4 separate regions of the Homo sapiens genome follow, and all the other regions are linked to region 3. Evidence: promoter capture Hi-C in human tissues and cell types (Jung and others, 2019). All regions are on one chromosome and are shown on one strand. The core of a region is centred on a gene start or on the middle of the fragment in contact, and the rest is flanking DNA. Distances in the headings are between cores, read along the strand shown.

What was found. The method cuts DNA at HindIII sites, captures the fragments that hold promoters and counts their contacts. A contact is called where the count stands out against the background at its distance.
Region 1: a contact is called between the fragment with the promoter of NME4 here and the fragment with the promoter of METRN in region 3, in 2 of the 25 tissues and cell types used here (dorsolateral prefrontal cortex and spleen).
Region 2: a fragment that was not itself captured here is called in contact with the fragment with the promoter of METRN in region 3 in 1 of the 25 tissues and cell types used here (dorsolateral prefrontal cortex).
Region 4: a contact is called between the fragment with the promoter of TPSG1 here and the fragment with the promoter of METRN in region 3, in 2 of the 25 tissues and cell types used here (lymphoblastoid cells and spleen).

What each region holds. Positions count from the first base shown.
Region 1 is chr16:391,471-398,448 of GRCh38, reverse strand. NME4 (NME/NM23 nucleoside diphosphate kinase 4) reads right to left here and starts at 1,250. Exons shown (of 5, transcript NM_005009.3): 1 at 1,136-1,250. The coding sequence starts at 1,226. LOC100134368 (a long non-coding RNA gene) reads right to left here. Exons shown (of 3, transcript NR_024453.2): 3 at 5,489-6,682. RefSeq lists silencers at 620-689, 830-1,319 and an enhancer at 1,610-1,659. The HindIII fragment of the contact is 12,085 bases long and covers 1-6,978 here.
Region 2 is chr16:993,264-1,000,099 of GRCh38, reverse strand. No RefSeq gene overlaps it. Among named protein-coding and RNA genes, the nearest start is that of SOX8, 15 kb to the right of the region's middle. The HindIII fragment of the contact is 5,735 bases long and covers 1-4,461 here.
Region 3 is chr16:710,144-716,499 of GRCh38, reverse strand. METRN (meteorin, glial cell differentiation regulator) reads right to left here and starts at 1,382. Exons shown (of 4, transcript NM_024042.4): 1 at 1,107-1,382; 2 at 516-916. The coding sequence starts at 1,210. RefSeq lists enhancers at 1-571, 572-1,169, 1,768-2,366 and silencers at 624-683, 784-1,213, 1,314-1,623, 4,511-4,640. The HindIII fragment of the contact is 3,141 bases long and covers 630-3,770 here.
Region 4 is chr16:1,220,479-1,226,517 of GRCh38, reverse strand. It overlaps TPSG1 (tryptase gamma 1), which reads left to right and starts at 1,250. Exons shown (of 6, transcript NM_012467.4): 1 at 1,250-1,311; 2 at 1,890-1,916; 3 at 2,924-3,095; 4 at 3,601-3,866; 5 at 4,177-4,322; 6 at 4,422-4,867. The coding sequence starts at 1,266. The coding sequence ends at 4,730. It overlaps LOC124903621, which reads right to left and starts at 1,267. Exons shown (of 2, transcript XM_047434997.1): 1 at 957-1,267; 2 at 1-64. The coding sequence starts at 1,267. It overlaps CACNA1H (calcium voltage-gated channel subunit alpha1 H), which reads right to left. Exons shown (of 35, transcript NM_021098.3): 35 at 4,750-6,039. The coding sequence ends at 5,524. RefSeq lists a silencer at 2,212-2,398. The HindIII fragment of the contact is 15,330 bases long and covers 1-6,039 here.

The sequences.
Region 1 (6,978 bases), core at 1-2,500, 320 kb after region 3:
AGCCCACCCTGTGTCTGAGGTGAATGAGTGGCAGGGAACCAGGGAGAAACACACTTTCCCCACCAGGTGAGCCCTGGAAACACGGACAAAAAGGGGCCTGAAGATTGAAGAGGGAAGGTAGCAGGGTTCTGTCCGAGCCAGGAGACGGGGCCTGTGCTGCTGTGGAGTTTCAAGGCCTGTCGCTTCCAGACCCAGGGTCAGCGCTGAGCTCCGCCCCAGCCGTCCTCCTCTGGAGGGGACGCTGCCAGGGAAACAGAAGACGTCCTCACCTTCCTATAGTCCCAGGCTGCTCCAGAGCCAAGCTACCCTCCGGCATCGGGTCCCTGGTTTCCAGAGGAGCCCAGACCCTGTATGTCCCACAGAATCTGGACAGAGCCAAAGGGGCTCCGCCAGGCCAGGAGGAAAAGTTAACCCCAGCAGGCGGCTGAAGCCCACGGGAGGAAGACCCCCTGGTTGGTTTGTTCCCCCAAAACCCAGTTTGCAGGGCGCCTTGTGTAGCCTGGGGCTCTGCTGCGGCTGGTGCGGGCATTGCAGGCGGCGGCTCACTTTTCAGAGCCGATGGAGGGAGCCCTGGGACATGGATCGTCCTGTGAGGTGGCAGCTGGGGGGGCCGGGCAGCGGCGGGGCCGGGGACTTGGGGCCTGACGTCCCAGTCAGATTCTGGCCTAACTTGGCCTTCAGCGAACGCCCCAGCGGAGCGGCTCCCCCCACCCCCACCCCCCGACTCCCTCACCCCCCCACACCCCCACCCCCACCCCCCGACTCCCTCACCCCCCCACACCCCCACCCCCACCCCGGCCGGGAGACCCCCTCCCCGCCCAGTGCTGCAGCCGGCCTCTGCCTTCCTTGCGCTCCCGGGCCCTCGGTCGCCCCGGACCCGCCCAGGCTGCCAACTCGCCGGGCGCCTGCAGCCTGGGGCCTGGGGAGGCGAGAAGGAGCCGCAGAGCCGGACGGGCACTGGAGGGGCGTGCGGGTGCGAGCCGGCGCCTTCCCCAACTCGGACGGACCCCGCAGCCCGCGCCCCGAGGCCTCTGGGGGAGTCGGACCCCAGCCCGCACGTGCGCGCACAAAGGCCGAGCGGCGCGCGCCCCTTCCTCCCCTCCGCGTCCCCGCCGGGGCGCGCGGCCCCACTCACCCGAGCCGTGGCGCACTAGCAGGCTCGGGCCCGGGGCCCGCGGGCCGCAGCGCAGCCCCCGCAGCGCGGAGCGCCAGAAGAGGCCGCCCATGACGCCCGGCCCGCGGGCCGCTGTGAGCGCGAGGAGCGGGCGCGGAGGGCGGTGCCAGCCCGAGACCCGCCCCCGCCCGCCCGGGAGCCCCCCGCCGCCCCGGAGCCCCCCGCCGCCCCGGACCCCCGTGGCCCGGCGCTCACGGGGGAAATGTTCAACGCCAATTTCTGTTAAAAATCAGAAGAAAAAACAAAATAATAATGAATCCTTCTCGAATTGCATTCGTCTTTACACCGACGCAACCGTTAACTATCGTTTTAACGCTTTCCCACGGAGGAAGGCCCACTCGGGAGGCTGAGGCAGGAGGATCGCGTGAGCCCAGGAGATTGAGGCTGCAGTGAGCTGTGACTGCACCGCTGCACTCCAGCCTGAGCAATAGAGCAAGACTCTGTCTCAAAAATAAATTCACGGACCAAAAGGAGGTCTAGAAGCCCTGGTCTGAGCCCCCTCCAATGGAGGGTGAAATTCCCACGTGAGCCCCAGGGCGGGAGAAGGAGGCGCTCCGGAGACGCTGACTCTGCGGCCAGGACGAGTAGGCGGGACTACAGACCCGCGCCACCACAACCAGCTAATATTTTAATTTTTTGTAGAGATGGGGCCTCCCTATGTTGCCCATGCTGGTCTCAAACTCCTGGGATCAAGAAATCCTCCTGCCTTGGCTTCCCAAGGTGCTGGGATTACAGATGTGAGCCTGGTCTGTGAATTTGAATGGGGAAAAATCCGACCTTTATTCTCAAATGGCCTCTGATGTGACTGCATTCCTCTAATTCATTCAATTGCGGATATAAGGAAGAAGCCACATTCATAGTTGCAGGGCCTGTGACTTTGTCACCAACAGAATTCACAGGTACGGTAATATTTGGGTAGATAGCACAGCATGCTACTATTTGAAATGGTTAGGTCTCCCACTGCTAGAACTTACTTAATGAGTCTTGAAAAAGCCTGTTCTTTTTGCTGCTATTGTGAATGGAATTGTTTTCTTATTTGAATTGTCCATTGCAAGTGTATAACAGACAATTGAGGTTTGTTTGTTTTCAGACAGAGTGTCGCTCTTGTTGCCCAGGCTGGAGTGCAATAATGGCATATCTCTGCTCACTGCAGCCTCCGCCTCCCAGGTTCAAGCAGTTATCCTGCCTCAGGCTCCCGAGTAGATGGAATTACAGGAGCTTGCCACCACACCTGGCTGGTGTTTTTTTTTATTTTTAGTAGAGACGGGGTTTCGCCATGTTGGCCAGGCTGGTCTCAAACTCGTGGCCTCAGGTGATCCACCCGCCTTGGCCTCCCAAAGGGCTGGGATTACAGGCGTGAGCCACCACGCCTGGCCAACAATTGAGCTTTGTGTATTGATCTTGTATCCTGCAAGCCTTCCAAATGCATTTATTAGTTCTAATAGTTTTTAATTAATTCCTTGGGAATTTCTTTGTATAAGATTGTGTCATATGGAGCGGGGCACACTGGCTCATGTCTGTAATCCCAGCACTTTGGGAGCCCGAGGCGAGCGGATCACGAGGTCAGGAGTTCAAGACCAGCCTGGTCAACGTGGTGAAACCCCGTCTCTACTAAAAATACAAAAATTAGCTGGACATGGTGGTGCATGCCTGTAATCCCAGCTACTCAGGAGGCTGAGGCAGGAGAATGGCTTGAACCCAGGAGGTGGAGCTCACAATGAGCCGAGAGCATGCCACTGCACTCCAGCCTGGGCAACAGAGCAAGACTCTGTCTCAAAAAAAAAAAAAAAAAGAAAAGAAAAAACATCATGTCATATGGGAATAGAGACGGTTTCAGTTCTTTCTTTCCAATCTGAATGCCTTTTATTTTATTTTCTTGTCTAGTTGCTCTGACTAGAATTTGCAGTACTATGGTATAAAGAAGTGACTTTCTTTCTTTTTAGAGGCTGGACTCTTGCTCAGGCCTATTATCCCAACAATTTGGGAAGCTGAGGCAGGAGGATCACATAAGCCCAGGAGTTTGAGACTAGCCAGGGCAATATAGCAAGACCCTGTCTCTTGAAAAAAAATAGTAAATAAACAAAAAATATATGAGTGAAGTGTATAGTATGTCAATTGTATCCCAATAAAGCTATTGCAAAAAGGAAAAAGCAGATATTACTATAGCGTACTCTGTTTTTTTTTTGAGACGAAGTCTCACTCTGTCACCCAGGTTGGAGTGCAGTGGCGCGATCTCGGCTCACTGCAAGCTCCGCCTCCCGGGTTCACGCCATCCTCCTGCCTCAGCCTCCAGCTGGGACTATAGGCGCCTGCCACCACGCCTGGCTAATTTTTTTTTTTTTTTGTATTTTTAGTAGAGACGGGGTTTCACCATGTTAGCCAGGATGGTCTCGATCTCCTGACCTTGTGATCTGCCCGCCTCAGCCTCCCAAAGTGCTGGGATTACAGGCATGAGCCACCGCGCCCGGCCACTATATCGTACATTTTTTAATGTTTTATTTTTGTTTTTTTAGCAACAGGGTCTCGTTCTGTCACCTGGGCTGGAGTGCAGTGGTGCAGTCATAGCTCAACTGCAGCCTTCACCTCCCAGCCTCAAGCGATCCTCCTGCCTCAGCCTCCCCAGTAACTAGGAAAACAGGCCTGAGCCACCGCACTTGGCCTAAAATATTTTGTTTTTGTTTTTGTTTTTGTTTTTGAGATGGAGTCTCACTCTGTTGCCAGGCTGGAGTGCAGTGGTGTAATCCTGGCTCACTGCAACCTCCGCCTCCCAATTCAAGCGATTCTCCTGCCTCAGCCTCCTGAGTAGCTGAGATTACAGGCACGCGCCACCACACCCGGCTAATTTTTGTTTTTTAGTAGAGATGGGGTTTCACCATGTTGGCCAGGATGGTCTCGATCTCTTGACCTTGTGATCAACCCGCCTTGGCCTCCCAAAGTGATGGGATTACGGGTGTGAGCCACCACGCCCCGCTGCCTAAAATATTTTGTTTGTTTGTTGGTGAGACATCGTCTTACTCTGTTGCCCAGGCTGGAGTGCAAGGGCATGATCTCAGCTCACTGCAACCCCCACCTCCTGGGTTCAAGCAATTCTCCTGCCTCAGCCTCCCGAGTAGCTGGGATTACAGGTGCTCGCCACCACACCCAGCTAATTTTTTGTATTCTTAGTATAGACAGGGTTTCGCCATGTTGGCCAGTCTGGTCTCGAACTCCTGACCTCAGGCGATACACCCACCGCAGCTTCCTAAAGTGCTGGGATTACAGGTGTGAGCCACTGCGCCCGGCCTGGCCTACAATATTTTGATAATTTATTTCAGTATAGTTTTTTATATTTTTATTTCCTTGTATTTTATTTTGCACATTAAAAACATGCTGAGACTGGGCGCAGTGGCTCGCGCCTGTCATCCCAGCACTTTAGGAAGCTGCGGTGGGTGTATCGCCTGAGGTCAGGAGTTCGAGACCAGACTGGCCGACATGGCGAAACCCTGTCTATACTAAAAATACAAAAAATTAGCTGGGTGTGGTGGCATGCACCTGTAATCCCAGCTACTCGGGAGGCTGAGGCAGGAGAATCCCTTGAACCCGGGAGGCAGAGGTTGCAGTGAGCTGAGATCGTGCCCTTGCACTCCAGCCTGGGTGACAGAACAAGACTCCATCTTAAAAAAAGAAAAAAAAAATTATGCTGGGCCGGACGAGGTGGCTCATGCCTGTCATCGCAGCACTTTGGGAGGCTGAGGCGGGTGGATCACCTGAGGTTGGGAGTTTGAGACCAGCCTGACCAACATGGAGAAACCCTGTCTCTACTAAAAATATAAAATTAGCCGGGCCTGGTGGCAGGTGCCTGTAATCCGAGCTACTTGGGAGGCTGAGGCAGGAGAATTGCTTGACCCTGGGAGGCGGAGGTTGCTGTGAGCTGAGATTGTGTTATGGCACTGCAGGCTGGTAGACAGAGCAAGACTCTGTCTCAATAAATAAATAAATAAATAACTCTCTTGGCCAGGCGTGATGGGATGGTTCACACCTGTACTCTTAGCACTGTGGGAGGCAGAGGTTGGAGGATCACTTGAGGCCAGGAGTTTGAGACCAGCCTGGGAAACATAGTGAAACCTGTCTCTACAAAAAAATAAAAAATTAGCGGGGCGTGTTGGTGTGCGCCTGTATTTCCAGCTACCGGGAAGGCTGAGGTGGGAAGATTGCTTGAGCCCAAGAGGTCCAGGCTGGATTGAGCTGTGATCGCACCACTGCACTCAGCCTGGGCAACAGAATGAGACCCTGTCTCAAAACAAAACAAAAAAGAACTCTCGTAACTCAACAAGAAAAGCAAAACCCAGTTCATTTCCTTGTGTAATGCCTACCCCTTGAGTGTGGACCATGCCTGGTGACTGACTTCTGACACAGCAAAAGAGACGGAGTGTCACTTTCACAATCTGGTCACCAAAGACTGCAGCTGCTGCTGCTCCGCCACCTCCTGGGAGAAGCAGCTCCCCTGTTGTGAGCAGCCCTGTGCGGAGGCCCCCATGACAAGGAACTGATGTTTCTGGCCAAAAGCAACATAGGTGGGCTTAGAAGTGAATCTGCAGGAGGCTGAGGCAGGAGGATTGCTGGAGCCCAGGAGGTTGATGCTGCAGTGAGCAGTGATTGTGCCACTGCACTCCAGGCTGGACAACAGAGCGAGATCCCATCTCTTAAAAAAAAAAAAAAAAAGTGGGCGTGGTGCAGTGGCTCACACCTGTAATCCCAGCACCTAGCTAGGCCAAGGTGGGCAGATCACTTGAGGTCAGGAGTTTGAGACCAGCCCAGCCAACATGATGAAACCCCGTCTCTACCAAAAATACAAAAATTAGCCTGGTGGGATGTGACACGCCTGTAGTCCCAGCTACTCGGGAGGCTGAGGCACTAGAATCGCTTGAACTTGGGAAGCAGAGGGAACAGTGAGCTGAGACTGTTCAACTGCACTCCAGGCTGGGCAACAGGGCGAGACCCGGTCTGGAAAAAAAAACAAGTACATCCCCCCTTAGTCAAGCCTTGGGGTAACCTCAGCGTGGCTGACACCTTGACCACAGCCTGTGAGAGCCTCTGACTCAGAGGCTCCCTGCTAAGCCCCACCCAGCCTCCTGTCCACAGAATCTGGAAGATAATGAACGTGTGCTGCTTACATCATGAAGTTGTGGGGTATTTGTTATGCAGCATAGATGACTAATACAAACAGCAGCCAGGGAGGTGCAGAGTGGCATCACCTCCAACCAGAGCTGGGCTTCAGGGGCTCTGGTGGTCCATGGGGCTGTACTGCCGCTCAGAGGCCAGCGCTGGAACTGCGTCTGGGTCTCACTGCCATCCAAAGCATGGACTGCCTATCTGGTTTCACTCTTGGAGTGGCACCACTCAGAGGGCCCCAGAGCCTGACTGAGGATGAGGTGGAGTGAGGAATCAGGGCTGAGCACGGCCGTGGATTTCTGGAACATTCCTATGGATGTGCTGGATGGTCCTTGTAGAAGGTGCTCAAAAAGATACCTGCAGGGTGGGACAGCGGGGGGATCAGGACAGCTGAATTCTGTCCCAGCCCTACGACTGTTACACCCATGTAGGGAGGGCATTGCCCTACATGGAGGTCTCTCACCTGTTTTATTTTTTTAAATATTTATTTATTTATTTATTTATTTGGACGGAGTCTCGCTCTGTCGCCCAGGCTGGAGTGCAATGGCATGATCTTGGCTTATTGCGAGCTCTGCCTCCTAGGTTCAAATGATTCTCCTGCCTCAGCCTCCCCAGTAGCGGGGACTATCGGCGCCCGCCACCACATCCGGCTA
Region 2 (6,836 bases), core at 345-2,844, 280 kb before region 3:
CAACTGGTACTTCCCAGGGACGGGACGCGGCCCTCACAGGGGGCGGCAGGTGCAGCCTCAGCTCTGCAGCTACCGGCCCCACCTCGGTGTTGTCTGAGGTTAAATGGAGTCCCAGCCTCGTGCATCTTGATTTGAGGGCCCTGAGCCTGCGGGCATCAGGGAGGGCCAGGGAAGCACCAGCAGGTGTGCCAAAGTGTGGGCACCCCCAGGGGGCAAAGGCCCTGCCACCCTCCCAGGCCAGGCTCTCAGAAGCCCCAGGGAGCCCACAGTGCCCGGACCTGCCTGGCCCCTGCTGGCTGAGCTGCCCCGGAAGAGCCTCCCTGCTCTTGGGAATCCCTGCAGGTCCACAGAGCCCTACCCCACATCGGCCTCTGACTGCTGGCTCATGACTGCTGGCTCATGACTGCTGGCTCCAGCAGCTCGAGGGGACCTGTCCTGAGCTCAGCCCAGGGGCCAGGACATGACTAGTGCGTCTCCAGACTCTGGCCCAAAACCCAGCCTCCATCCACCCCTCAGTGGCTTGAAGCAGCTCAGCTGGTCATGGGGGCTGGTGAGCAGCTCCGTGTGCCTGGCATGAGGCACCAGGGTCAGTTGTGACCTCACGGAGGAACAGCCTGGGGATGGGGAAACTGGGACCCACGCAGTCCCACCCCTCACAGTGATTACTGACAGTGACCATGGCCTTGAAGGAGACCATCAGAGGGTTCTGTCTGGGCCAGTTTAGGAGGGCTTCCAGGAGGAGGCAGCATGTGAGCCGAGAGAGGCATGGGCAGGAGAGGCAGGTTCAGGGCCAAGGACAGTCCAGGGCCCAGGGTAGTGGACACCACTCTCCCTCCTCCCAGGAAGAGAAATGTCCCCTTCAGGCAGCAGTTTCTAGAAAGATCTGGGTGGAGCCGGCAGGGACCACCAGAAGCTGCTCCACCGGGAGCTGCCCCACCTGGGGTCCCTCCACCTGTCCTCTACCACATGCCAGGGGCAGGCACGTGATCCGACTCGGTTCCCATCCGGCCCCTTGGGAACCAGCGAATGCCCGTGCCGGCTTGCTCCGTGGAACCAGCTGGCTTTCCCTCTTTCCCCCTTCCTCTTTCTTTCTGAAATCTGGATGCAGTTTGCTGCGTGGCCTCCCTCCTCAGTCCTGGCCAGGTGGTTTACCTGGGCTCCTATGCCACCTGTCAGTTTCCTCCCTGCCTGCTTCCCCACCAGCACCGGCTGCCCAGGCCTCCGGGCCTTCCTGCCGTCCTCCTTAGAGAGAAGAACCTCCTTGGGCCTTGGAGAACCCCCACGCTGGGTGTGCTTGGCCATCCGCACAAACGGGCTGGGCCGGGGCCCTCACGCTGCTGCTCGCTGGATTCCTTCTGCCCTGCACCTACCCAGGAGGCAGTCCCCAAATCTAGTTCACTGCTTCCAACTGCTCCCACTGTGTGGCACCTGGTGTGCACCTCCTGCCTGCTCCAGAGCTCCCAGGGCCTCCTGTGGGCACCGAGGGCACCTATGCCCTTCCCCTTTTCCCCCCATGGGTCCTGCGAGGCTGGCATCACTGCAGGTGAGGACCTGCCAGGGTCATGGCCTGGAACCCTGATCTGGAGTCTGAGCCCTGTCCAGGGGTTCTTGACTTGGGCCCAGCACTGCCCTGGCACCCAGCAGCCTTCACGCCTCCCGTGGGCCTCTCCAGCTGGCTCTGGGCGCCACCTGCCTGGTTCCAGCCACAGACTCCTCTCCTGCTGTCTGTCCCGCTGCCCTCTGACACGCCATGCAGGGGGCCCAGGGCACCCGTTTCCCAGACACAGTAACGGTGTCTCAGCCAGCTCCTGGCAGGCCTGGCCCGAGCCAGCCAGCAGGGACCACCAGGAGCTGCCCCAGCCAGGGTCCCTCCACCCATCCGACTCGAAGCAGAGCCCCTTCTCCCACAGCATTTTCAGAGCTTAGGCTGGGGGATCGGGGGTGCGTTTTGCAGACATGAGCTTCACAGATTTAAAATAAAGGAGGATTCGGGTGGGGACTCTCTGGGGGCTTCCTGCAAACCAGCCCCCGCGCAGGCTGTGTGGTAACCGAGGGCACCGTGGCAGTGAGGCAGGAGCAGTCGGCGCCCACACGCCGGATCTGCCGCACCCGCTGCCACCCACAGTCCTCTGGCGAGCTCTCAGATGGGAGGAACAGGTGACAGGGAGCCCTCCCCAGGGGAGCCGCGCCCCGAACCTCACAGGCGGGCGTGTGGAGCGGGAGGCGGGGGTGGGGTGAGGCCTCCAGACCCCATGGAAGATTGAAATGTCATCTGTCTCGTTTTCAAAGGAAGCTCAGCGGGCTCCATCCCCGCCTTTTGCAAGAAGATGACTCTTCTGCCAGATGGGAGGGGACGCCCACCTCCGCCACGCCAGCTTCTGTCTTCCTCCCGGTGACGGCACCACAGCTCCCCCGGCACCGCGTACATTCCTGAAGTGGTGAGGCCCGGGGACGGCCTGTGACCTGCCTCCTTCCCGGGAGGGGAGCTGGGCGGGTATTTAATGAAAGGAAATGCTCCAGCCGGCTGCTTCCTGCTCAGGTTGCCCAGCCTCCCTGCCGCTCCTGCCGCTGGCAACCTCCCGCGCTGGACACCGTGGAGGAGGCGGGCAGGCTCAGCACCCAGGGCCCCTGCAGGCACCGGCAGCTCTCAGAGATGCCTGGTCACTGGAGGTGCTTATAGGACCCGGCCTGGGCGGCCATCCGTTCCTGCAGACCCTCCCTCGGGGGCCCAGGGAGAAGCAGGGGCTGCTCTGAGCCACAGACCTTCCTCTTCCCTAAAATGCCTGAGGATGCTTCCCTGAAGGGGCCAGTGTGGGACTGGGGGCTGACAGGGCACAGGAGATGCTGCCTGGGTGTGTCCAGTGGGGAGACAGAGCTCTGGGGGTCTGCACCCAACAGCCTCCTCCCGTTCAGAGACAGCACGCTCCCTTCTCCTCCCTGAGAGGGAGGAAGCCCCATGCAGGGGTGGAGGTTTTGGTGTGGCCCCAGGCGTGCTGCGGCCTTGGCAGGGCAGCAGACCCTGGCCCCGTCCCCACCACTCCTCTTCCTGGGCTTGGGCCCCGACTGTGAGGGGTGGACTGTGGGTAAATCACCAAGAAGTGGAGTCAGGGGCCCTCTTCTGTTAAATGGGGTGAAAACTCGCACCAGCCCCATGAGCCCTCCATGCCTTTGTTGAGATCAAGCTGGAGGAGGACCAAGCACCCAGACGCCCTCCCACATATCATCACTGTCACCGTCACAGCCACCACTCCCTTCCTTTCCCCTTTGCCCCCGCCCCAGCCCTGACCCTGGGGTGCTCAGGGCCTCATTTCAGAACAGGTGAGCACCAAAGCCCTGACAGAGGCTAAGTCTCCTCTTTCTAACAGAATCTTCTTCCCTGGCCAAGACATCCCCTGGTACTTAGAGAGATGAGAAACTCACTGTGCAGGGGAATCGGGTGGCTGCGAGCCGCCTCACCTGCTCCCTTCCTCTTCACTCCTGCAGGTGCCCCCACGATGCCTCGGAAAGTAACCATGGCCGCCCTCATGGCAGCTCACCTGTTTTGGGGTATTTTATTCGCATCTGCAGAGTAGAGAGGAACATTCCAGAATGTGAAGACTTCAGAACGTGGACCCTGGGTTCTGGAGAGCAGGTGGCCTGACTTTTAGCTGGGAGCTGGGGGGATACACCCACAACTCAGTGGGAGGACCCCCAGCCGCTCTGGAGACCTGGCTTTCCAGTAGGTCTGCATAGCTCTGAATTGATTTTGGAAGAAACCGCCCTGAACTGTTTTTCTCACTGCCCTGTCTGGAAAAAAAAAACATCACCTTGTAACTTTATGTAAATGAGCCACATAGCATGCTCCTTTGCAGGAGGGGCTCAGCATGCCTGCCTGGTTCCTCCTCGTTACTGAGCTGGATCTCAGAATGGGAAAAGACCATAGTTTATCTACCTGCTCTTGAGGGGTGTGTGGAAAGTTCCCTGTTTGAGATCTACAAAGAACCTTCTCTCCTGGTGAACACAAGCGTGCATTTCACACGGGTGGACTTCCAGCAGCAGAATTGCTGGGTCATAGGTCACTGGCATGCCAGCTCTTGGTGGGACCACAAACCATCTTTGGAGTGGTTGTGCAATAGCAATACAAGCTTCTATCAGGAGGATGAGGCCCCGCTTGCCCATGTCCTCACCAGGACTGGATGTCTTCCCTCTGAACTTCAGCCATCCTAGTGGGTGCTGCATCTTTTAGAGAAATGAGCTTGACACATACTTCTACCATGTCTTGATAACTCAAGGTCACAGTCATTAGCATTAACCACAGTCCTAATGATGTACTCAAGCTGAGCAGGCAGGTGTCCCATGTCATGCACTCAGGGCCCCCCAGTTAGCAATGACTCCACCTGCACAGAACCCACAATAGCTGCCAGATGACAGATCTGCCTAGGGCTCCTGAGGTCTCTGCCATGCTTACCTCCCTGTTAGCTACCCCTTTGCCCTTCCTGCCAGTGGGTCTCCTGTAGAAATTGTTCTCACCATTGGAGCAATTTAAAGAGAGCGATGATGACCCTGAGCTTCCTGCTGCTGCCCAGCCTGTTTCCGTTACCACTGAGCCTTCATTTGGTTCAATGCTCTGTTCAATGCTCTGAAATATCTCAGAGACTTGAATCTGTTCTGCCTGGAGCAAACATGCCCTGCTTCACCTTCATTCATTCATTCACTCATTCACTGATTTGTTCATTCAGCAAATACTCATTGAGTATCTGGTCTGTGTCCAGGATAATTTAGGTTGTGGGTGAAGGCCAAGGACAGTTACGGCCCCAAGCTTGTTGAGCTCGTAAGGCCACCCAGGGACACATGGCTCATGTTGTGAGCCATGGCTCATGTTCTACCCCCACTCCACCATCCACACCACAAAGCATGTTCTTCTCCACAGATGGGCACGGGCAGTGTGGAACCTTCCATACCTGCCCACTAGATGATCACCCATCCTGCTTCTCCCAGGACTGAGGGGCTTCCCAGGACATGGGACTTTCACTGCAGAAACTGGAAATGTCCAGGCAATCCAGGATGAGTTTGGCACCCTACTGCTCACTGAGTCCTGGGACCCACAGCTGTGAGAGGGCTGCATATGGAACCGGTGGTTGTGCCTGCCTCAGGCATGTCTCAGACCTGTCCCAGGTGTCTCCTAAGCACTACCACTCACTCAGGTTCAGAGAGAAAAGAGCAAGCTGGAGCCATCCAGGTAGGATACTTCAGACTGAGTGAAGAAATGAAGGATGATGCTGTCTAACTGAATGAGAGATGAGCTGCTCAGAGACAAGACTCATTGGAAACATCTATCCTTGTGAACACAAGACTCACCAGATCCCTGCTCAAGACTCAGTGGAAACATCTGAAGGGCCCCATTTCCTCAGAAAGCCTCCACTGACCACAAGGCAGGTTGGGTCCCTGTACTGGTTCTTATGGTCCCCTGTATGTGTCCTGTTTTGCCCTTTCCTGATGTATTGAGGGAGCTCAGGGCTGAGTCTATCTCCTTCTCCTTTAAAGCTCAGCACCTACTACATAACAGTCACTGAATGAATTAATGAATGAATGAAGGAGTGGATGGATGGGTGGATGGGTAGGTGGGTGGGTGGATGAACAGATGGATGAATGAGGGGGTGGGTGAGTGGATGGATGTATGGTTGCAGTGGATAATAAATGGATGAATGGGTGGGTGGGTGGGTGGATAAATGGATGGATGGATGGGTGAGTGGCTGGTGGTTGGATGGATGGATGGGCAGGTGGGCGGTGGGTGGATGAATGGGTGCATGAGTGGATTGATGGGTGGGTGGATGGATGGGTGGGTGGGTGGGTGAGTGGATGGATGGGTGGGTGGGTGCGTGAGTGTGTAGTTGGGTAGGTGAATGGATGGATGAGTAGGTGAAAGGATGGATGGGTGGATGGATGGATGGATAAATGGGTGGGTGGATGGGCGAGTGGGTGGATGGATGGATAGGTGGGTGGGTGGGTAGGTGGGTGGATGAATGGGTGGGAGGGTGGATGGATGGGTGGGTGGATGGATGGGGGTGTGGATGGGTGAGTGGGTGGTGGATGGGTGCATGGATGGTTGGATGGGTGAGTGGATGGATGCGTGGGTGGATGGGTGAGTAGGTGGGTGGGTGTGTGGGTAAATGGGTGGGTGAGTGGATGGATGGGGGTGGACGTGTGAGTGGGTGGATGGACAGGTGCATGGATGGTTGGATGGGTGAGTGGATGGATAGGTGTGTGGATGGGTGAGTGAGTGGGTGGACGGATGGGTGGGTGGATGGGTGAGTGGGTAAATGGGTGGGTGCATGGATGGATGGATGGGTGAGTAAATGGGTGGGTGAGTGGATGGATGGGAGGGTGGATGGGTGAGTGGGTGGATGGATGGGTGCATGGATGGTTGGATGGGTGAGTGGATGGATAGGTGCATGGATGGGTGAGTGGGTGGGTGGGTGGGTGAGTGGGTAAATGGGTGGGTGCATGGATGGATGGATGGGTGAGTGGATGGATGGGTGGGTGGATGGGTGAGTGGGTGGATGGAGGATGGGAGGTAGGTGAATGGGCAGTTGGGTGGATGGGCAGGTGTATGGAGTATATGTCACCATTGTCCAGCAGGCAGACTTTTTGCTGATCATATGCAGGTGTGGGTCCTGTCCCTGTAGCTCAATGACAACTTCAGGTGATATGTGTTGAGTAGCTGTTTCTAACCAAACCCTGTGTAAGCACCTGACCCACCAGCATCTCCTGTGTTCCTGAGCGCCATTGCCGGGGAGGTGGGCACCATTGTCACCATTTTGCAGGTGGGCTACTGAGGCCAGAGAGGCCAGCAGCTT
Region 3 (6,356 bases), core at 133-2,632:
AGGGGGCAGAATAGCGAGAGCCCATCCCTTTCAGGGTCAGGCGCCAAGCTCCAGGAGAGCCAAGCAAGAGCTGGGCCTGGTGCCCTGCAGGGAGGCGAGCGGCGTCTCCATGGTGACCGGGCTGCACACTGGACTTTTGTTGGTTGGGCTGGGGGAGGGGAGAGAGGTCACCGCTGGGCCAGGGAGCCCCGGACAGCTTTGGCCGGAGGCTTCGATTCTGTCCCCACCATCTCTTCCCCCAACCGTTCAGGGACCAGAGGCCCAGGATTGCTGGGCCCGGCCTCCCCTTCCCTCCACTCTGCCCCTGCCAGCTCTTTCCAGAGATGAATCGGGAAGGGAGGGCGGGGAGGCCATCCCTCCCCAGCAGTCCCAGGCTGTGTGGCCTGACAAGCCCATCCAACCCTTGTAGCTCACTTTTTCCTTCTGCAGTGGGGCCGACAAGGCACATTCCCGCCAAGCCCAGGCAGGGTAAGACTTCGGGACTCCCACCCTGTCCCAACCAGACCGCCACTCACCGTCTACGCCGAGACCGTGGGCCTGCGGGGGCAGCTCGGGGCGCCCGTCCTCGCGCAGCTCAAAGCGGAAGGCGGCCACGCGGCGGCTGATGTCCTGGTGCGGCGTGGCCTGCAGGAAGAGGGCCCGGCGCTCGCGGGGACCCCAGCGCACGCAGCGGCCCCCTGCCGGGCCCGGGCCCTCGGCCAGCAGCAGCTCCAGGGCGCCCCCTGCGCGCTCCGCGAAGACCTGGGCGCCCGCGAAGGGCCGCACCGGCCGCAGACAGGCGATGCCGGGCCGCGCTCTGGGATCGGGGCCGCCCAGGGTCAGGCGCAGCGCCCCAGCCGGGTACAGCCACTCAACCGCGCCCTCCGCACAGGCCAGGGCCAGCTGCCCCACGCTGCCGGGCTCCTGGGTGAGGCCGCTGGGGACAGGACGGGACGGGGCGCTGAGACGGGGGCGGGTCCCCGCCCGGCGCAGCCCCCGCTCCCTCCCGAGGCCGCCTCGCGGATGGGGAAACCGGCCCAGCGCTCTGCGCGCTCCGAGGGGCGCCTGGGGGGTCCTAGCCGCAGCGCACCCCGTCCTAAGTGCGGGGACAGCCCCCCGGACCGTACCTGCCCCTCCAGCTGCAGCGCTCCTCGGAGTAGCCGGCGCGGGCAGCCGGGGCCAGGAGGCCGCAGCACAGCGCGCAGAGCAGCGCCGCGGCCGGGAACCCCATGGCACGGCGGGCGGCGTCCGGGGAGTCGGGGCTCTCACCACCGCTGCCCCGGCGGGGCGCGGGTCCGGGCGGCGGCGGGAGCAGCCGGGGGCGCCGGCCGCCCGGCCCCGGCGAAGCCCCCAAGCCCGCGGCCGCTCCGCCTGCCGCGCAGCCCCAGCGCCGGGGCCGCCTTGGAGCGGGTCGGGAAGGGGGCGGGGCCTGCGGCGTGTCGGCCAGTCGCGGCGCGGCCCGGAACTTTCCGCCAATAGCAGGCGCGGGGCGGAGCGGGGGCGGGGCCGGAGCTCGGGCGCCGCCGGAGGACTATCCCACGGTCCAAGCGCCTCGAGGGTTGGGGGGGGCCTTGGCGCGGAAGGGAGGCTCCTTGCCCGCCCCGCGCTGTGCGTCTCTCCTTCGCCGCGCCCTCACCCTGGCCTCGCCCCCCGCGCTGTCCCGATCGGAGTCCTGGAGCCTCTGATGGAGCCGAGGTTTTGATGTCCACTGGAACCTCGGGGTGGCGGTAGGGAAGGTGGCCCACCTGGTGGTTCCGCCTCGCGGGCGGCCGGGCCTGCTCCTTCCTAACACTGGGACCTGGGCCTGTTGGCCACATCCCTCCCAACCAGGTCCGGTCCTGCTGACCAGAGGCCGGTGGAGCCCCAGAGGAGAGGGGTCATGACTCCAGAGGCGGGGAAGGCCTGGCCTGGGGGCTGCGCCTTGGAGCGGGGCCAGGCCTCGGGTTTTGGTAAGGCCGTCTGCAGGAGGGGGTCCTGCTGAAGAGCGCGCAGCCCGCAGGCTTAGGCCCCTTTCCTCAGACCTAGCGGCACCCCATAGTTGCCGGATGACCGACCCCGGGCCAGACGGGGCTCCTGGAGGGGCGTGAATGGAGCAGCCACGGGCACCCCTGCAGGCCTGCAGCACGTGGAGACACAGGAGCTGGGAGGACACCCCTGGGCCACAGGAGCAGCCCCCACCAAGATGAAACAAGCAGAAACAGGCGATTCGCAAACACACTGTAGCCTCAGGCTGGAGCAGTGTGGGATTCCCAGCATCCGGGACTGCTGAGTTGGCCTGATGGGAGGAAGTGGGCAGTGGCTGGCCAGGTGGACAGGAAGAGAATGGGGGAGAGCAGACAGCCTGGGTCAAGGGCCTGAGGAAGGAGCTCTTGGCAGCCCAGTGAAACCCCAGGGCATGGGTGGTGGGTGGGGACGACAGGTCAGATCACAGAAGGCCTAAGGCACAAGCAAAGGGGTCCCACTACATACTGAACCCCTTACGGACGACAGAAGCTTTAGCCGGGGACTGCAAGGACCAGCATAGACTGTGCAGCCTGAAGATGTGAACATTCCGTCCCCTGCCCCCAAACCTCCTGCCACCCGGCGCTCGAAACTCATGGTGGACAGATGAGTTCACCAGTGGCAGTCGGACAGATGAGGCCAGATGGCTCAGTGGCAGTGGGAGGCTGGATCCCACTGACCAGGCCCTCCCTCAACCCCAGGGCCCTCCCAGGCCAAACAGGAACAAGGCGCCTACTGGGCTCGGCCAGCCCCTTGCTCTGGGCGAGGTGCAGGTCAGAAGTAGCCATCACAATCCCCAAAAGGTGGAAGACTCCCAAAGGCCTGTCTGCAGCTGAGTGGACAAGCAAGTGCAGTGGGTCCATTTTTTTTTTTTTTTTTGAGACGGAATCTCGTTCTGTCGCCCAGGCTGGAGTGCAGTGGCTCGATCTCGGCTCACTGCAACCTCTGCCTCCTGGGTTCATGCCATTCTCCTGCCTCAGCCTCCCGAGCAGCTGAGACTACAGGCGCCCGCCACCACACCCGGCTAAATTTTTGTATTTTTTCTTTTTTTAGTAGAGAGGGTGTTTCACCGTGTTAGCCAGGATGGTCTCGATCTCCTGACCTCGTGATCTGCCCGCCTTGGCCTCCCAAAGTGCTGGGATTACAGATGTGAGCCACCGCGCCCGGCCTCTTTTTTTTTTTTTTTTTTTTTTTTTTTTTTGAGATGGAGTTTCGCTCTTTGCCCAGTCTGGAGTGCAATGGCGCGATCTTGGCTCACTGCAACCTCCACCTCCTGGGTTCAAGCGATTCTCCTGCGTCAGCCTCCCGAGCAGCTGGGATTACAGGCATGTGCCATCATGCCGGCTAATTTTGTATTTTTAGTAGAGACGAGGTTTCTCCATGCTGGTCAGGCTGGTCTTGAACTCCCGACCTCAGGTGATCCGCCCACCTCAGCCTCCCAAAGTGTTGGGATTACAGGCATGAGCCACGGCACCCCCTGGCGGTGGGTCCATTATTAAGCCATAAAAAGGAATGAAGTTCTGGTCCCTTGACACCCGCTACAGCCTGGATGAGCCTGGAGGCTTATGCGCTGAGCAAAATAAGCCAGAGACAAAAGGACAAACACTGTTGGATTCCACTTCTGTGAGTCACCTTAGAGTAGTCACGGTCATGAGGACAGAAAGTGGAGCAGGGGCTGGGGAGGGGAATGAGGGATTGGAGCTTAATGGGGACAGAATTCAGGAGCTTGATTACACAACACAAATGTACTCAACAGTACGGAACTGCACACTTTAAAATGGGTAAAATGGTAGATGTTATGATGTATATCTTACAATTAAAAATAAAAATTGTCAAGGCGCAGCGGCTCCCACCTGTAATTTCAGCAGTTTGGGAGGCCAAGGCAGGGAGATCACAAGGTCGGGAGTTCGAGACCAGCCTGGCCAACATGGTGAAACCCCATCTCTACTAAAAATACAAAAATTAGCTGGACGTGGTGGCGCACGCCTGCAGTCCTAGCTACTTGGGAGGCTGAGACAGGAGAACCGCTTGAACCCGGGAGGTGGAGGTTGCAGTGAGCTGAGATCAGGCCACTGCACTCCAGCCTGGGTGACAGAGTGAGAGTCTGTCTCATAAAAATTAATTAATTAATTACATAAAAATTAAGGCCGGGTGTGGCAGCTCCTGCCTGTAATCTCAGCACTTTGGGAGGCTGAGGCAGGATGATCGCTTGACATCAGGAGTTCAAGACCAGCCTGGCCAACATGTTGAAACCCCAACTCCACTAAAACTACAAAAATTAGCTGGGTGCAGCAGCTCATGCATGTAGTCTTAGCACTTTGGGAGGCTGTGGCAGGAGGATTGCTTAAGCCCAGGAGGGTGAGGCTGCAGTGAGCTGTGATTGCACCACTGCACTCCAACCAGGGCGACAGAAGAGACCCTGTCTCAATAAAAATTAAAAAATAAATAAATAAAATATAAAAATCGTAAAGGTTAAAGGGTAGACTCGGCCTGGGGCTGAGCACATGAGGTGCTCGCAGAGGTGGGGAGAGGCACACGGGTCGGCCGCTGCAGCCACCCAGCCGTCCAGGGCTGCTGCCGCTTGGCGGTCCCCGGGTCAGCACGGTGGGCTCCAGGCGCCCTCTGGTGGCGGCGTGAGGGTCAGCCCCAGACACCCTCCTGACAGCCTGGGCCCCGGACTTCTCCCCAGGCCTCCTCCAGAGAGGGGCCAGTGTCTGTGGTTGGAGGGAGGGGTTCCTGGGGTGACCTGGTCTGGAATGGCACATGCCTGGCCCCGAGTTGACGCCTCAACCCCGGGCGTCCCTGCCTCCTCCCCAGCCTCATCTCCGGGGATCCGGTGCCAATGCAGCCACCCACAGGAGAAGCCCTGGACACACACCCCTTTTCCTCACAGCCCCCGGCCCCACCCAGGAAAGCACCTGGCATCAGTGAGTGCTGTGCTGCCTACAGGAGGGGCCTGGAAGGCCGAGTCTGTCCTCAGTTGCTATGGGTACAGGACCCGACTTGCCAGGGTGCTGGTGCTCAGTAAATACCAGCAGACTAAGTGGGGGGTGGCTGGGCGGAGGAGTGCCTGGAAGGCATCCCCAAGCTTAGGTGATGCCGTGGCTGTCTGTGCTGTTTGGGGGCCCCCTCAAGTGCCCCAAGCCCCAGACCCTTGAGTGCCCTGAAACCCCAGAAGGGGCCTCTCTCCATTTCCACCCAAGTCAGAACGCGACAGCAGCAAGACATACTCAAGTCAGACAAAAGGAAGAACTTCCCTGAGGCTTTGTTTCAGAAACCTTGGGCCTAGCGCGTGAGGCCACCCCTGGAGAGTGCAGAGTCTGGGACAATCATCTCTCCCGCCTGCGGGTCAGCCTGGCCGTGGCCAAACACAGACGCCATATCACAAGGCCCCTCAGCCCAAGGCAGGGCGGCCAGCCTCACAGCTTGTCCCGAAGCCTGAGACTTGGTTTCTGTTCCTGTCTTGCCCAGAGGGCCCTTGGAGCTGCAGCCTGAGGGGGTGCTGGGGTGGGGGCGGTCGAGACCCTGGTCACTGCCACATGGTTCCCACCTTCGGCCACTGCGTTCTCCCCCCAGACACAGGTTCCGGCCCGTGGAGGACACCAGTGCTGCATTTGCCATGAGCTGGGCCCCAGCAGTGCGTGGCACAGGCAGCCCACGTCCCGCAGGGGAGCGGCTGCGGACAGGTGGCTGCGCCACGGAGTGCCGAACAACCCGCTGGGGACACCACAGTGCCGGGCACAGAATAGCAGCTGTCACGGCCAGGGCAGGAGCTGGCTGGCTGGGGCCCTGGGGGAGCAACATCAAGGACGAGGGGAGTTGATGGGGGGGCAGGAAGGGAGCCCCAACCCTGGGGAGAAGAGGGGCAAAGGCCCTGAGGCAGACAGAACTTCGAGTAAACCAGGAACCACAGAGGGTGAGCCCTGGGGGCTCCTTGTTTGCTTGAAGCTCCATCTGCCTCAGAGCCTTTGACCTGCTGCAAAGGGGAGGCGGGTAAGGCCGGCCCCACCCAGCCCATCTGCCCTGAGGGAGTTGGGGAGTTTGGACGCACCGGTGAACAGGATCCCCCAGGAAATGGGGAGGAAGCCTAGAGAGAAGGGCCAGATCGTAGGCCAAGACCCCCGCCTGTGTCTCTGTTCACTGGCAGCGGAGCGAGGAGAGAGGTGTGGGCTGACCTGAAGCCAGCGCCTCCTGTGTCCCCAGCTGAGCCCTGCACGGGATTGGCCAAATGTGCTGCTCTGCGGCCGCCCTGCTGCCCCCTCCCTGGGTGGAGCTGGGGTCTGGGACAGTGAAGATGGCTCCCACAGCTGAGGGGCACTGGGTGCCAAGAGCCTGCCAGACCCTGGGCCACCCAGAAACATGCTCTGATAGTGCAG
Region 4 (6,039 bases), core at 1-2,500, 510 kb before region 3:
CGTGTGGAGCACTCTGCGGGGAGTGGCGTGCTGGGGCACAGGCAGAAAGACGGGGTCCCCAGTGCTGCAGGTGAATTGAGTTGGGACAGGTGAGGGCCCTGAAGTCCCCACCTGTGGGGACCTGGGGACAGCCCTAGAGGTCAGGACTAGAGGACCTGGTTCCATGAAGACCCTGCCCCTCAGGCTCCCTCCCCACTGGGTGACATCGCCCTGTTAGGGGCACCCTGGGCCGGGGACTCGTGGCTCAGACCCCGCTCCCTTGTGTGGGGTGGGACTGTCCTGCCTCCCCTGAGGCGCCCCCTCCAGGTGTGCGGCTGCCGTGAGGGAGGAGGGTGCCCGGCCGTGGGTGCACTGCTGGCCCCGCATGCTGGTGTTGTCCTTATTGGTCACCAGGAAAAACACTGAACCTCCAGTTCTGAGCCTTGGCTACCCCACGTGCTGGCGTGCAGGCGGCCACGTCTGTGCCTGGGAGGCCACATCCTGGTGGGTGGTCAGGCAACTCCCCCCAACCCGTGGCTGAGTTTCCCCACATCAAAGAGGGGATCCCTGACCTAGAAGGTCTCAGCTGGACCCTCCAGCCTGGCCTGTGATTTGGATCTGGGGAGGGCGGCAGGAAAGTCCCGGGCGCTGCCCAGGGCCCCTAATCAGCTGAGTCATCAGGCTGGGGCAGCCAGGACGGTTAGGAAGGGCCAACCCAGGCTGGGCCGTGAAGTGGTGCCCATCTGATCTGCCGCACGAGCACAGGACCTGCTGCCGGACGTGGGGACAGGGACTTCTCAAAGAGTGGTTGTCACGAGGGCCTGAGCTGTCTCCAAAGGGCTGCTGGGCCTTGAGTTGGGACCCTCCTGAAGAACCCCCAGGACTGGGCTCCCAGAGGATGAAGGAGAGGGGGTGGCGTGCCCCGAGGGAACCAGGGAGTAATTTTTGGAGGGGGCGGCACTCAGAGGAACACTCACCCCTCCCTCAGCCCTGGCCCCGGAGCAGAGACAAGGTGAGAAGTACTTTTGCCTTCTGTCCTTCCCCGCTTTCCCTTGACGGAGCCGGCCACTTGGTGCCAGGGCTGTGGCGTCCACACAGGGATAAATGGAGGTGACGACCCTTCTCTGAGGTGCAGAAGGAACAGGTGGGGCCGTCTGTGGAGCTCCGGCCTCCTCCTCCGTCCTCCCGCCCTGCCTGACAGCAGGTGTGTGGCCACCCCTATCCCCCACGCCCAGCAGGTCCAAGGGTCAGGCTGGCCCTCCTTCTCCCTACAGTGGGCAGACACCATGGCCCTTGGGGCCTGTGGCCTCCTGCTGCTCCTGGCTGTGCCCGGTGGGTGACCTGGCCTGGGTGTGGGGATGGGGGGGCATCTGCTTCCTGCCTGGACCCCTGATGGGGGTGAAACTGGGGGCTGGTCTGAGACGGAGAAACATGCTGAGTCCCCACCCTGTGGGGCCCCGTGTCTCCTCTGAAGAGACTGCACCCCTGGCTGGAGGCCCAGCTGTCCGTGCTGGGGAGAGGCAGGAGGGATGTGCGGGTGGGAGTTGGGGGTGCAGGAGTTGGCAGGGCGGGTGGTAGTTGGGGGTGCGGGTGGGAGTTGGGGGTGCCAGGAGTCCCAGGCCCTAGAACACTGGTGATTTCTTTCCTGAGCAGGACCTGGAGGGCGGGGAGGAGGCCCAGGCCTGAGGCCAAGCTCCCGGCCTCCAGCTGCCGTTTATGGCCTGTGGCTTGTCCCACCCAGCCCTGGGCCAGTGAGACAGCAGTTGACCCAGCCTCACCAGGCCGGGCCCCTCTGCTCAGGACCAGGCCCCACCCCAGTGCCGCCCTGAGGCCTGGCAGGGGCCTCTGGAGCCCGCACACCCCTCTCCTTGGCAGCCCCCTCCATCCTGGGCCCTTCGTCTTTCCCACAGGTGTGTCCCTCAGGACTTTGCAGCCAGGTACGTCTCTGACAGGTGTGGGGTGTGGGGGAGGGTGCAGGCAAGGCCTGGCAGGAGGGCCTCGGTGACCCTCTCCTTCCCTGGGGTCCCAATGGGGGCCCGGGGAGGTCATAGTTTGTCGCCGTGGTTTCTGCTCGCATCTCTCGGTTGAGTGGGGCTGGTCGGGGTGTGCTGCAGGGCTGTCTCCCCCACCACCACTGTAGTCAGTCTGTACCTTGGGAGATGCTCTGAGGCCATGAAACAACCTGGCCCTCCTCGAACTTTCTCCCCACAGCGTCCCCACCGTGGCCCTGGAACCAGCTGGGGGCTTTGCCGTGTGGGAGAGCCGGTGCCCCACCCCACACCCGCTGCCTATCTATAAACATCTCTGTCTGTCTACATCCCAGCTTCCCTTCCATTCAGCCCAGTGGCCACACTCCATCACCAGCACAATTATCCAGCTCAGGCAGACCCAGGTGTGGCCAGTGGGTCTCCAGCTGACTTCCTCTTAATTTCTTCTTAACTTACTGAGGTGAAGTTTACAGAAGATAAAGTTACATTATCAAGCGTCCAATTCAGAGGCCCCGAGCACCTTGGACAGTGCTGTCTGCCCCCCGCCCCCCGAATTTTATCCAGCTTCGAATATCTCCACCACCCCTGAAGGAAAACCGGGGCCCACTAGGCAGCCACCCCCAGCACCCCGGGCCTTCTCGGGGGCTCCACCGTTCTGAGCCCCTTTCTAGCCGCCTAGGGGCCCTCTGCAGCCTTTCCACCGCCTCCGGGAGCCCTGGTTAGTTTGTGGAGCATGGTGCTTAGAAAGGACGACCTGAGCCCCAGGCGCGCTCACTGCTCCTGAGACGTCATTTCTGCTGCACCCACGATGCTTCTGGGGAGAGTCTGGCAGACGAGAGAGCTGAAGAGCAAAGTCCCCAAGAAGGCAGGGAGGTGTGGTCAGGGAAGGCTTCATGGAGGAAGTGCAGTGGGTTTCTTGGGATCCCCACCAGGCACCCCTTCCTCCTTCGACTTAGGGTGTGGCCGGCCGCAGGTTTCGGATGCAGGCGGCCGGATCGTGGGGGGTCACGCTGCCCCGGCCGGCGCATGGCCATGGCAGGCCAGCCTCCGCCTGCGGAGGGTGCACGTGTGCGGCGGGTCACTGCTCAGCCCCCAGTGGGTGCTCACAGCTGCCCACTGCTTCTCCGGGTGAGTGTCCGGGTGGGCAGGGGCAGTCTCAATGTCCAGGCCCCAGTGGGGCATGCGCCAGCGCAGAGGCCTCCACTTGGTCTTGACTCACTCCGAGGCTTGGGAACTCTGAGCCTACTTCCTTCCAATGGAAAGGGAGGAGCTGGTTGCCCACCTTCTGTGAGGTTCTGCAGCTCTTTGCTCACCTCTAGGGATGGACAGCTCCCTCCCTCCTTCCCTCCCCTCGGTCTCTTCACGTGGAGCTGAGCTTGCAATCTGCCTCCTGACCAGCCCCTGCTGGTGTCGGGCATGCTGCTGGCTTTTCCAGGGGCTGGCAGGAACCCCAAGGTGCTGCCGTGGTCCTTGGGCCCTGCAGGGTGAGGCCACTGCCCAGGCTTTCTGCGTCCCAAGCCTAGGAGGGAAGAGCTGGGCTTCGGATGCCTGCAAGGGTAGGGTCTGGGCGGGGCCGACACTGACCTCCAGCCTCCGCAGCTGGCCCCTCTCACCCAGCCACCTTCCCTCCCAGGTCCCTGAACTCATCCGACTACCAGGTGCACCTGGGGGAACTGGAGATCACTCTGTCTCCCCACTTCTCCACCGTGAGGCAGATCATCCTGCACTCCAGCCCCTCAGGACAGCCGGGGACCAGCGGGGACATCGCCCTGGTGGAGCTCAGTGTCCCCGTGACCCTCTCCAGCCGGATCCTGCCCGTCTGCCTCCCGGAGGCCTCAGATGACTTCTGCCCTGGGATCCGGTGCTGGGTGACCGGCTGGGGCTATACGCGGGAGGGAGGTGAGGAGCCCCCGTGGGGATGCTGGGATGGAGGAAGGCAAGGGCGGCAGGAAGAGAGCTGGCTTGAGGGATGCTGATGCTACCACCTGCTCCTGGTGGCTTCCACACCCAGCCAAGGCCGCCCCTATCGGCTGTCCCTTTTCAAAGCCTGTCGTGTGGATCCAAAGCAGCAGCCAAACGTCAGATCACAACCCACGTGCCGTGACGAGGGTCGTGGTGGCATGGGACTTGTGTCTGGCAAGGTCTCCCATCCCCCCAGTGCAGGGCCTGGTGCCCCAACCTTCTCTGAAGCCTGTTCCCCCCACCCCAGAGCCTCTGCCACCCCCGTACAGCCTGCGGGAGGTGAAAGTCTCCGTGGTGGACACAGAGACCTGCCGCCGGGACTATCCCGGCCCCGGGGGCAGCATCCTTCAGCCCGACATGCTGTGTGCCCGGGGCCCCGGGGATGCCTGCCAGGTGAGCCTGCCAGGCCGTGACAGAGGATGGGGGCGGCTGAAGCCCAGGGAGGGGCTCCCCATCTTCTCGGCTCCCAATGCTCGCCTTCTCTGTCCTCAGGACGACTCCGGGGGGCCTCTGGTCTGCCAGGTGAACGGTGCCTGGGTGCAGGCTGGCACTGTGAGCTGGGGTGAGGGCTGCGGCCGCCCCAACAGGCCGGGAGTCTACACTCGTGTCCCTGCCTACGTGAACTGGATCCGCCGCCACATCACAGCATCAGGGGGCTCAGAGTCTGGGTACCCCAGGCTCCCCCTCCTGGCTGGCTTCTTCCTCCCCGGCCTCTTCCTTCTGCTAGTCTCCTGTGTCCTGCTGGCCAAGTGCCTGCTGCACCCATCTGCGGATGGTACTCCCTTCCCCGCCCCTGACTGATGGCAGGAATCCAAGTGCATTTCTTAAATAAGTTACTATTTATTCCGCTCCGCCCCCTCCCTCTCCCTTGAGAAGCTGAGTCTTCTGCATCAGATTATTGCAACATTTAACCTGAATTTAAAAGCACACGAAACAAAGGTGTCAATGGGAATCTCGCGGCCAACGCCCCCAGATGTAGGGGAGGCCTGATTCGCATCGGGGCCGGGCGCGTTACTCCATGGGGTCGGCCCCTTAGTGAGGTGTCACCTCTCCCAGAGTCACAGGACGCTTCTGGGAAGGCCCGAGCGGAACGGAAAGGGTGGTGGCTGGAAGGGGAGGGTGGTGAGGGCGTGACAGGCGGACAAGAACTCAGACTGTGAGTGAAGGTGACATTGGGCCGCGGTGGCTGCAACCTGCCGCCGGCAAGGGCACAGGGCCCCCAGCGAGTGTCCTGTAACAACGCGGGGCCTGAAAGGACGCAACCTGGTACCTTCCCCTCTCTGGCGGGTGCCCGGTCTTCGTCCCACAGACGCGGCTTCTCTCCTGACGGGAGGCTGACCCAGTTGCCCGCACAGCCTCGGCTGGTAGCAAAACTCGGAGAAACCCGAACCAGAACGGACGGAGGCTCGTGGGGCCCGGCAGCTACTCCTGCTTCGCTGGGCAGAGAACCAGGGCCTGGGCCGTCATCCTCCCCGGGCCTTTCTGCTCACGACGGGACCCAAGTCAGGGTCCATGCAGGGTTCTGCCTGGGCCTCCACCCCAGCGGGGCCCCCAGACCCCAGGGCCAAAGCCGTGGGCGGCACCAAGCCCCGAGCTACACGGGGTCATCTGCACCACCCCCTGGGGCAGGGGTGGCTGAGGGGGACCCTGGTTTCTCCAGAGGACACTGGGGGACTGTGAGGTACAGCCCCCGCCTCTTCTCTGGGGGGTCACCGACGGGCATGGGAGGCTCTGATTCTGGGGGTTCCAGGGGCACTATGGCCCCTGAAGAGGAAGCTCTGGATTCTGGGGTCACACTGTGGCTACCGTCCAAGAAAGGGTCTCCACTGGGGACCCCGAGGTCCAGCGGCTCAAAGGCAAAGCTGGGGACGGTCAGGTGCTCAGCCCGGCAGGAGGCCTGGCCCCAGCGCTCCCCCTTGGCTGCAGGGTCCCCCCCGGCGCCTGAGCCCTCTGTGGGCTCCAGGGAGTCCCTGTGAGGCGTGGCCTCACAGGACGGGGTCCTGCGCCTCAGTGTGGTGCTGCCGCCCTCTGCCGCGGAGGGCCGCGCAGAGCCCTCGTCCTCCGCAGGGGGTTCCACCGAGATGCAGGGGGGGCTCATCTTCTTCTTTCT